2 separate regions of the Homo sapiens genome follow, and region 1 is linked to region 2. The links are contacts of gene promoters, found by promoter capture Hi-C in blood cells and fetal thymus (Javierre and others, 2016). All regions are on one chromosome and are shown on one strand. Each heading gives the region's core, a stretch centred on a gene start or on the middle of the fragment in contact. The rest is flanking DNA. Distances are from core to core; before and after follow the strand shown. Region 1 holds the start of LYPD4 (LY6/PLAUR domain containing 4). Region 2 holds the start of ERFL (ETS repressor factor like).

Region 1 (3,995 bases), core at 1,223-3,722, 84 kb before region 2:
TAGAGATGGAGTTTTTCCATGTTGCCCCAGCTGTTATCAAACTCCTGGGCTCAAGCAATCCACCCACCTCGGCCTCCCAAAGTGCTGGGATTACAGGCATGAGCTCCCATGCCCAGAGAATGCAGCATTATTGTGGTGATGGTAGGTTGAGACAATGGGAGCTTCCCTCTCTGAGACCAAGTGAATGCAAAACATGCTGGGGATGTACGCTATGGAATATCACGCAGGAGTTGGAAGAAGTTGATTAGATGTACACAGGATGTGAGGCAGGGTACAGTGGCTCACGCCTGTAATCCCAGCACTTCGGGAGGCTGAGGTGGGCGGATCACCTGAGGTCAGGAGTTCAAGACCAAGCTGGTCAACATGGCAAAATCCTGACTCTACTAAAAATACAAAAATTAGTCGAGTGTGGTGGTGGGAGCCTGTAATCCCAGCTACTCAAGAGGCTGTGGCAGCAGAAGAATTGCTTGAACCCAGGAGGTGGAGGGTGCAGTAAGCCAAGATCACACCATTGCACTCCAGCCTGGGCAATAAGAGTGAAACTCCGTCTAAACAAAAAAAAAAAAAAAAAAAAAAAAAAAAAAAAGTACACATCATGACAGAATGACAGAATGTGTACATGGATAGATTGTAAAATCACAGTGCTGATTATTACAAATAGTATATAACATAATATCACTTGCATAAATTAAAAACTCAAACAGAGGTCGGGTGTGGTCGTTCATGCCTGTGATCCCAGCACTTTGGGAGGCCAAGGCAGACAGATCACTTCAGGCCAGGAGTTCTGGACCAGCCTGGTTAATATGGCAAAACCCCATCGCTAAAAAAAAAAAAAAAAAAAAAAAAAAAAAAAAAAAAAAAAAAAAACCCCAACAACAACACTACACACATCCTGGGAGAACACACACACAAACCAAAAGATACATATTAACCACCTTAGAATGAGAATTGCCTATAAGAAGGTTAGGGAATGAAAGTGGGGAATTGGTGGAAAATAACAGTGTAGGAGGGGGTACAAAGATCACTGACCTTGGCCTCAGAGACCCAGGTTGGAATCTTTACCCCTTCATTTACTAGCTGTCCAATTTGTTGAACTCAGAGCCTACTACCTTCTTTATAAAATGAAGTATAATACATCTCATAGGGTCATTGTGAAGATCAATAAAATTATTACCATAAGTATTAGGCAAATGCTAAGCTCTTTATAATCGTTGGTTACCCTGTTCCTCTACCACTATCCCTCCCTCCCACACACACTTCCTCTCACTCTCTCTCCACTACCTAAAGGATCAAGTTCAACCTCTTTAGCTGGCCTTTAAGCCTCCCCCGACCACACCCCACCCCACCCCAGATAAGCGCCACCCAACCTTTCCAATTTTATCTAGGACAGCTCCCCTGCCCAGCAGTCCAGCTAGAGGTCACGTCGGCCACCCTTTTCTGCCTGCAATGCCTCAGACACACATGCTCTGTAACCCAGAAATCTGTGGCCAAGAAAGGTGCCAAGACCCGCAGAAAAGCTGGGACACAGGAAAGAGAAACGAAGGCTGACAACAGATCTCACGGGGGTGAGGGAGATTAGGCCAATCAGAGAAGACAGCACACGCCAGCCTCAGATGCAGAACAACTGGACCTGGACCTAACAAGCTGAGTACAAGTGGAGACGCAACCAGAAAAGATTGAAGTGAAATCCTCAAGCAAAAAAAAAAAAAAAAAAAAAAAAAAAAAGGATGGAGCAGTAGTCAGAGGGGATGCCACCCCTACAAAAGACAAACAAATTGATGGAATGGAACCTTGCAGGGAGAGAGAGGACCAGCAGAGAGAGGGAGGCGTAGGAAAATGAGGAGTGGGGCACAAAGGTGGGGCTCTCAGGGAGAAGAGGAGTCGATTTTAGAGGGGGAGAAGAAAAGGACACAGAGCTGGCTGTACAGAGAAAAGGGGCCAAGGCAGAGAAGATGGCGGGATGGTGTGAGACGGAGTTCACAGAAATACCCAGAGAAGGCGACGATTACACAGAGGAGCCCCCAGAGGGGCGAACTCTTGAGGAAGATGAACGCGGAGGGTGGAGCCAGCCAGAAATTCAGAAAAACTAGAGGCGTCCCCGGTAGCGAAGGAAGCCGGGAAGGGGCCAGGCTATCAGGGCATGAAGCACGGGAGAAAATGGGTCCGAAGAGGGAGAGCGTCCGAGAGAAAAGGAAAATCAGAGATTAGGAAAATCACAACCGACACAAAGACAAGAAGAGACACAAGGAAAGGGGTGCAATCTGAGGAAGGAGGGCCCGGTAAGCAACCCGGTAATCACAGCGCTGGGAGAGAACGCATAAAAGAAGGGTAGCTCAGGAGTTGTGGGGCACCGGAAGAGACATAACAGAAAACGCAGGCCTCCACTCAGCAAAAACAAGCCACGCGCGAAGTCGAGGTACAAGGCAAGGGAAGGCCAGAAACGAGGCAACCCGTGCACAGACCGGGCTTGGTCAACGCCCCAGGGGCGGGGCCAGGCGGGCCGTTCCTGGGGGGCGGGGCCAGCCTCGGTCCAATAAGGGGTACTCGACGCCCCATTGGCCACCTGCCTCGAAAGGGGGAAGACAGTCTGGGCGGGCAGGACGTGCGGAGGGAGAGGCAGCGGTGGCGCGAGGCTCAACTCGAAGCGCTATTGGTGGGACTGATAGTCTTGTGCGCCAAGAAGCTGGCAGAAGGGAAGGGGCGGGACATCAGTTCAGGATCTCAAACCGCATTGGTCGTCTGCCTCGGCTGAGAGAGGCGATGCTTGAAGTTCATTGGTCTTTGTGAGACAGGGTAAGAAAAGCAGCGCGAGCTTGGCGGTTCCTCTGGCCACTTTCTCACAGTGTCTTTGGGCGTCTTCTTGACTGAATCTGACTCCATTGGAGGCTGTGGTAACCGTGAACTAGCTGCACGAACACGGTCCCTCCTGCCTTTCCGTCCTCCTCCCTCTTAGCCGGACTCCCTAACCCAGGCATCCCCTCTCCTCCCCCTCGCGCCCCTCCCGCCCTCGCGCCCCCTCTCCCCTTCCCTGCCTCGCGGGCCCCTTGGCGCGTTCCCGGTTCCCCACTCGCTCCCTGGGGCACGGGAAGGGGGGAGGGGGACATGCATGAAATTAATTGTTGGTAGTGGCCACAGGAGCAGGAAGCGCTGGACACAGTGACTTCACATGTTTACACAAAAACCTGAATAAGGTGTGAGCGCAAGAGAGACATTAGTGCCCCAAGGAGAAGGTTTTTGGCCCAGATCAGGGCCTAGCACATGACAGGGGCTCAGTAACCATTTGTGGAATGAATGAAGGAGTGAAGGAAAATAACTTGAAAGTGGGGCAGGTGGCGGGTGCGGTGGCTCATGCCTGTAATCCCAACACTTTGGGAGGCCGAAGCAGGCAGGTCGCTTGAGGCAGGTCAGGAGTTCAAGACCAGCCTGGCCAACATGGTGAAACCCCATCTCTACTAAAAATACAAAAATTAGACGGGCGTGGTGGCACAGGCCTGTAATCCCAGGTACTCGGGAGGCTGAGGCAGGAGAATTGCTTGAACCCAGGAGGCGGAGGTTGCAGTGAGCCGGGATTGCACTACTGCACTACAGCCTGGGCTACAGAGTGAGACTCCATCTCAAAACAAAAAAAAAGAAAGAAAGAAAGTGGGACAGGGGAGCCAAGCATAGTGGCTCCAGCCTGTAGTCCCAGCTACTGGGGAGGCTGCGGCAGGAGGATTGCTTGAGCTCAGGAGGTGGAGGCTGCAGTGAGCCATGATCACGCCACTGCGCTCCAGCCTGGGCAACAGAGCGAGACCCTGTCAATAAAAAAAAAAAGAAAGTGGAGCAGGGAATCCATGAGAATAAGGTAATTATTGGGGGTGCAAGAGAGGGTTCTGATTTAAAGGGGTACAAGAACAAAATAAGACTAAAGGAATGCAAGGAGGCAGTTGCTTTGCAGGGCATAGATGAGACTAAGAATTGAAATTGAACTAAGAATTGAAAGGGGCATAAAACTA
Region 2 (3,897 bases), core at 1,350-3,849:
AGGTGCAACACTGTCACGGAGGAGGATGGGTGAGGGCCAGGAGGCTGGGGACTGGTGGGGGCAGGCCTTACCTGAGGGGACAGGTTAGCAGGTTGCATGTGTGAGTGCTTGTGTGCAACAGAAGGAATGTGTGTGTGAGTGTGTGCATGTGTGGTGACTCGGTACTGCTTGAGAGGAGGAAGAGGTGAAGAAATACGAATGTGTGAGGAACAGGTGAGTTTGCAGCTTTAGGGGACAGGTGGGATGGCTCACGTACAGGTAGGAAGGGGCCAGTGTGACATGAAATGAGATAAAATGCAGGGATTCCAGTGGAAGGGGCAGATTTTAGAGAACAGGTATTACCTGGAGGGGCAGGTAAGAGGGGACGTATGCTCCCCGAGAGACCAGACATCTTAAGGGCAGGTGTGAGGGGGACAAGTGTTACCTGGAGGGGCAGGTGAGAGGAAATAGGTGTTACCTCCAGGGCAGATGAAGGGAACAGGTATGGAGGACAGGTGTTGCGTGCAGGCAGGTATGAGGAGATAGATGTTACCTGGAAGTCCAGATTTGGGGAGTTGAAGGGGGAACATGGATGTGACAGGTGCATTGATAGACAGGTGTGAAAGGTTAGTTACCTGAGGCCACAGGTGGGTGCAGTGTGACTCTGCCAGATGGTCTGCCACCTCGATTTCTCTCGCTCCCCTGTCCTCCCCTCCCTGGGGAGCCAGTTCTGGCTCTCGGGTCCCTCCCGTGGCTCTGGCCCTGGGTGGGGCACAGAGTTAGCTCTGGGCTAGGCGAGGCCTGGCCTGCTGGCCTGCCGGGCAGCCAGGGCCCCTGAGGCTGCTTGGCGATGCGGAGCGCGTCTGGGCCGCGGCGGCCGGCCGGGAGGGGGGAGCGGGCGGGGGGGCCGTTTAGCCGTGATAGATCCGCGCGCCGCTTGTCTCTTAATCTCCAGAGCGACCGATCGATTCGCTATTTCCCTTTGTTGCCAGAAAATTCGATCCTGGGCCTGGAATTAGGTCCCCGGCTTAATCTGAGCGGAAACCAGCGAGGGGGAGACAGAGACAGAGATGCTGGGAGAGACAGAGACAGAGAGACAGTAAGAGACAGAAAGAGGCAGAGAGAGAGAGATAGAAAGAGATGCCGAGAAAGGAAGAGAGAGAGATAGATGCCGAGAAAGGAAGAGACACAGGGAGAGATAAGCACAGAGATTTAGAGAGAGATAGTCTTAAGAGTTGGACCCAAAAAGGAAGAGAGAGATGCTGTGAGAGACAGAGATAGAGAGACAGATCCTGGGAGAGTTAGAGGTGGACACAGAGATGCTGTGAGAGACAGAGACAGAGAGACAGTGAGGAGAGACCCAGCCAGGGGAGAGATAACAGAAGTGGCCCAGCAGGGCCCTGCGACAGTGGTGGAATGATAGAAAGGGTGTCCCAGAGGGCCCCGGCCCCACGAAGGTCAGGGCCAGGCCTGTACTCCTTGCCCCGAAGTGTGCAGACCCCAGAATTGGCCCAAATGTCCTTCCCACAGACCCTGTGACCCCTCATACCAAATATCCAGACCCCAGATATCCAGATCCAAATTCGCAGACCCTTAGCTTTGAACTCCAACTCCAAATCCAGACTTCTGGCCCCCTCAAGTCCAAACTCCTATGCTGATCCCCAGTCCCAGATATCCACACCCCCAGTCCTGACTCCCAGCCCCAGTCAGCTCCCAACCTCAGATATCTAGATCTTCCGCCCCAAGTGTCCAGTCTCTTGGCTTTGAGCCCCTAGGTCCCAAATATGCAAGCCCTCAGCCCTGACCTCTAAACCCCACTCAGAATCTAGCCCCAAATATCCAGACTCCTCAGCCCCAAACATCCAAATCCACCTTCAGGTCGGCCACCAACCCCCGTTCCCAGATTTTCAGTCCAGTCTCTTGCAGACCCCATCTCCGTGGCTCTCACTCGCTCTCCCTCCCCGCCCCCAAATCTCGCACCCCTGTCCCGAGGCCGCACCTCTAGCGCTACCCGCCTCCCACCTTCCCAGAGTTGGGCGCTGCCCCACCTGCCCCTTACAGCCGGGGCGGATGACCCCATCCGCCTACCCCTCCACCGGCTCGGAGGCCCAGCTTCTCAGGCCTCCCGGGACCACCCCCGCGCCCGCCCCCTCCTGGGGCGGGAATCCCCGCCCCCTCCCCGCCCCTGCGCCGGCCGCGGCGCTCACTCACTTTCTGGGCTTTTCGCATCCGCTCCGGTCCGGGGAGAAGTGTTTAAAGTTCGGATCCCGCAGCCATGGCCCCCGCGGCGTCCTGGGGAGGGGGCACCGGGGCGAGGGGCGGGGTGGGGGGAGATGCCCGGAGCCCCGGGGAGGCAGAGACCCAGAGGACGAGGAGAGGGAGTCTCTGAGACGCCGGGACAGGAGAGACTCAGAGACGGAGAGACAGCCAAGGAGACAGAGACGGGGAGACGAGCAGAGACGGGGAGATGCAGAGAGGGAGAGAGACAGCGAGATAGACGCGCAAAGAGAGCAGAGACGGGGAGAGCTGAGGACGGAGCTCCGGGCTGGAGCTCAGCACAGCGAGCGCGGGCGGGCGCGCGCCGGGGACAGCCTGGCCGGCTGGGGGCGCGGGGCGGCCCTGCCTCCTGCGCCTTCTCCTCTTCCTCCTCTTCCTCCTGCTCCTCCTCCTCCTCGTTCTCCTCCTCCTCCCTCCACTCCTCTGCGCGCCGCGCGCCTCCCGCCCTCGCGGCCGCCCGGCCGGGCTCGGCTCGCAGATATATGGAGGCGGCGGCGGCGGCGCGGGGGAGGGGGCGGGGGCGCGATCGATGGAATATAATTTTCCTCAAACTCGGAAAATAAAGTTCAGAGCTGATCAAATTTGAAAACAGATGTCGAATCGCGACTCTAAATAAGGTTCGATCCCGGGACTGAGGGAGTGGGGGTGGGGCGGGGGTGGGTGGAGAGGTGGAGAGACCCCCCTCCTCTCCCCTTCCCTTCTCCTCCGCCCCGCTCCTCCCTAAGTGGACGCGCGGACAAACGGACAGGCGCGAGGTGGAGGTGGCGACGATGCGTCCAGGACCCCTGCTGGACACGCAAGCCTGGACCGGGACTGGAACACGGACCCGCACACACGCAGCCTGGATAGGAGATACACGGACAGAGGGACATATGGATACAGTAAGACAGTGCAAACACACACTCAGGGACACACAACCCTACAGAGAGACAGACACAGACACACACACACAGACCTGCCATCTATACACGCAGCACACACATGCGGACCGTAATACAGGAAGTGGAAACACAACCGGTACACGGAGACATTCAGGCACACACAGAGAAACATATGCACAAACACAGCCTGCACACCACACCTTCCCCAACCCACAGCCACTCCCTGATCCACTGACCCACAAACTGGACACAAAGACAACCAGATGCACACACAGCCACACTCCACTCCCAACACACAGCCTGGACACACAAGCCCTCACTAACACATAGGCAGAACCCAGGGCTGGCACACTGACACTCCCCTTCACACTCCCACAAGGTCACAGGCACACACACGCACACCTACAGTGACAGGAAAGGGCCCTGCCCAGCCAGATCTGCTCCCATTGAAATAACAAGTCAATATCGACCAGCCTCAGGGCGGGTCAGACCCACAGTTCAGCTCCCGGCCGGCCGGACCTCCTGGCCCAACCTGACCCTCACCCTCACTGTCTACCCTCCTATTCCCTCCCTTGCCCCTTGCCCCTCGCCCCTTGCCCCTCACCCTGCCCTCTCTCCCGCTTCCACTCCCCAACCCACCACCCCCGACTTTTCTCTCCCATTCCCAGGTCAGGCTCCGCCCCGCCAAGTCCCACACCACCTTCTCTGGGGAAAGGCAGCTCTCACCTGGGCAGCCCCTGGAGGCTTCTACCCCTAGAGG

Evidence for each region. Contacts are between HindIII fragments. The CHiCAGO score rates a contact against its expected background, and 5 or more counts as called.
Region 1: a contact is called between the fragment with the promoter of LYPD4 here and the fragment with the promoter of ERFL in region 2, in 12 of 17 cell types (non-activated CD4 T cells, total CD4 T cells, activated CD4 T cells and 9 more). The highest score is 12.1, in non-activated CD4 T cells.

Annotation. Positions count from the first base shown.
Region 1 is chr19:41,842,211-41,846,205 of GRCh38, forward strand. It overlaps LYPD4 (LY6/PLAUR domain containing 4), which reads right to left and starts at 2,473. Exons shown (of 5, transcript NM_173506.7): 1 at 1,368-2,473. DMRTC2 (DMRT like family C2) reads left to right here and starts at 2,832. Exons shown (of 9, transcript NM_001040283.3): 1 at 2,832-2,891. The HindIII fragment of the contact is 15,469 bases long and covers 1-3,995 here.
Region 2 is chr19:41,925,850-41,929,746 of GRCh38, forward strand. It overlaps ERFL (ETS repressor factor like), which reads right to left and starts at 2,600. Exons shown (of 6, transcript NM_001365103.2): 1 at 2,191-2,600. It also overlaps a transcript of ARHGEF1 not described here. RefSeq lists a silencer at 2,546-2,725 and an enhancer at 2,997-3,497. The HindIII fragment of the contact is 35,384 bases long and covers 1-3,897 here.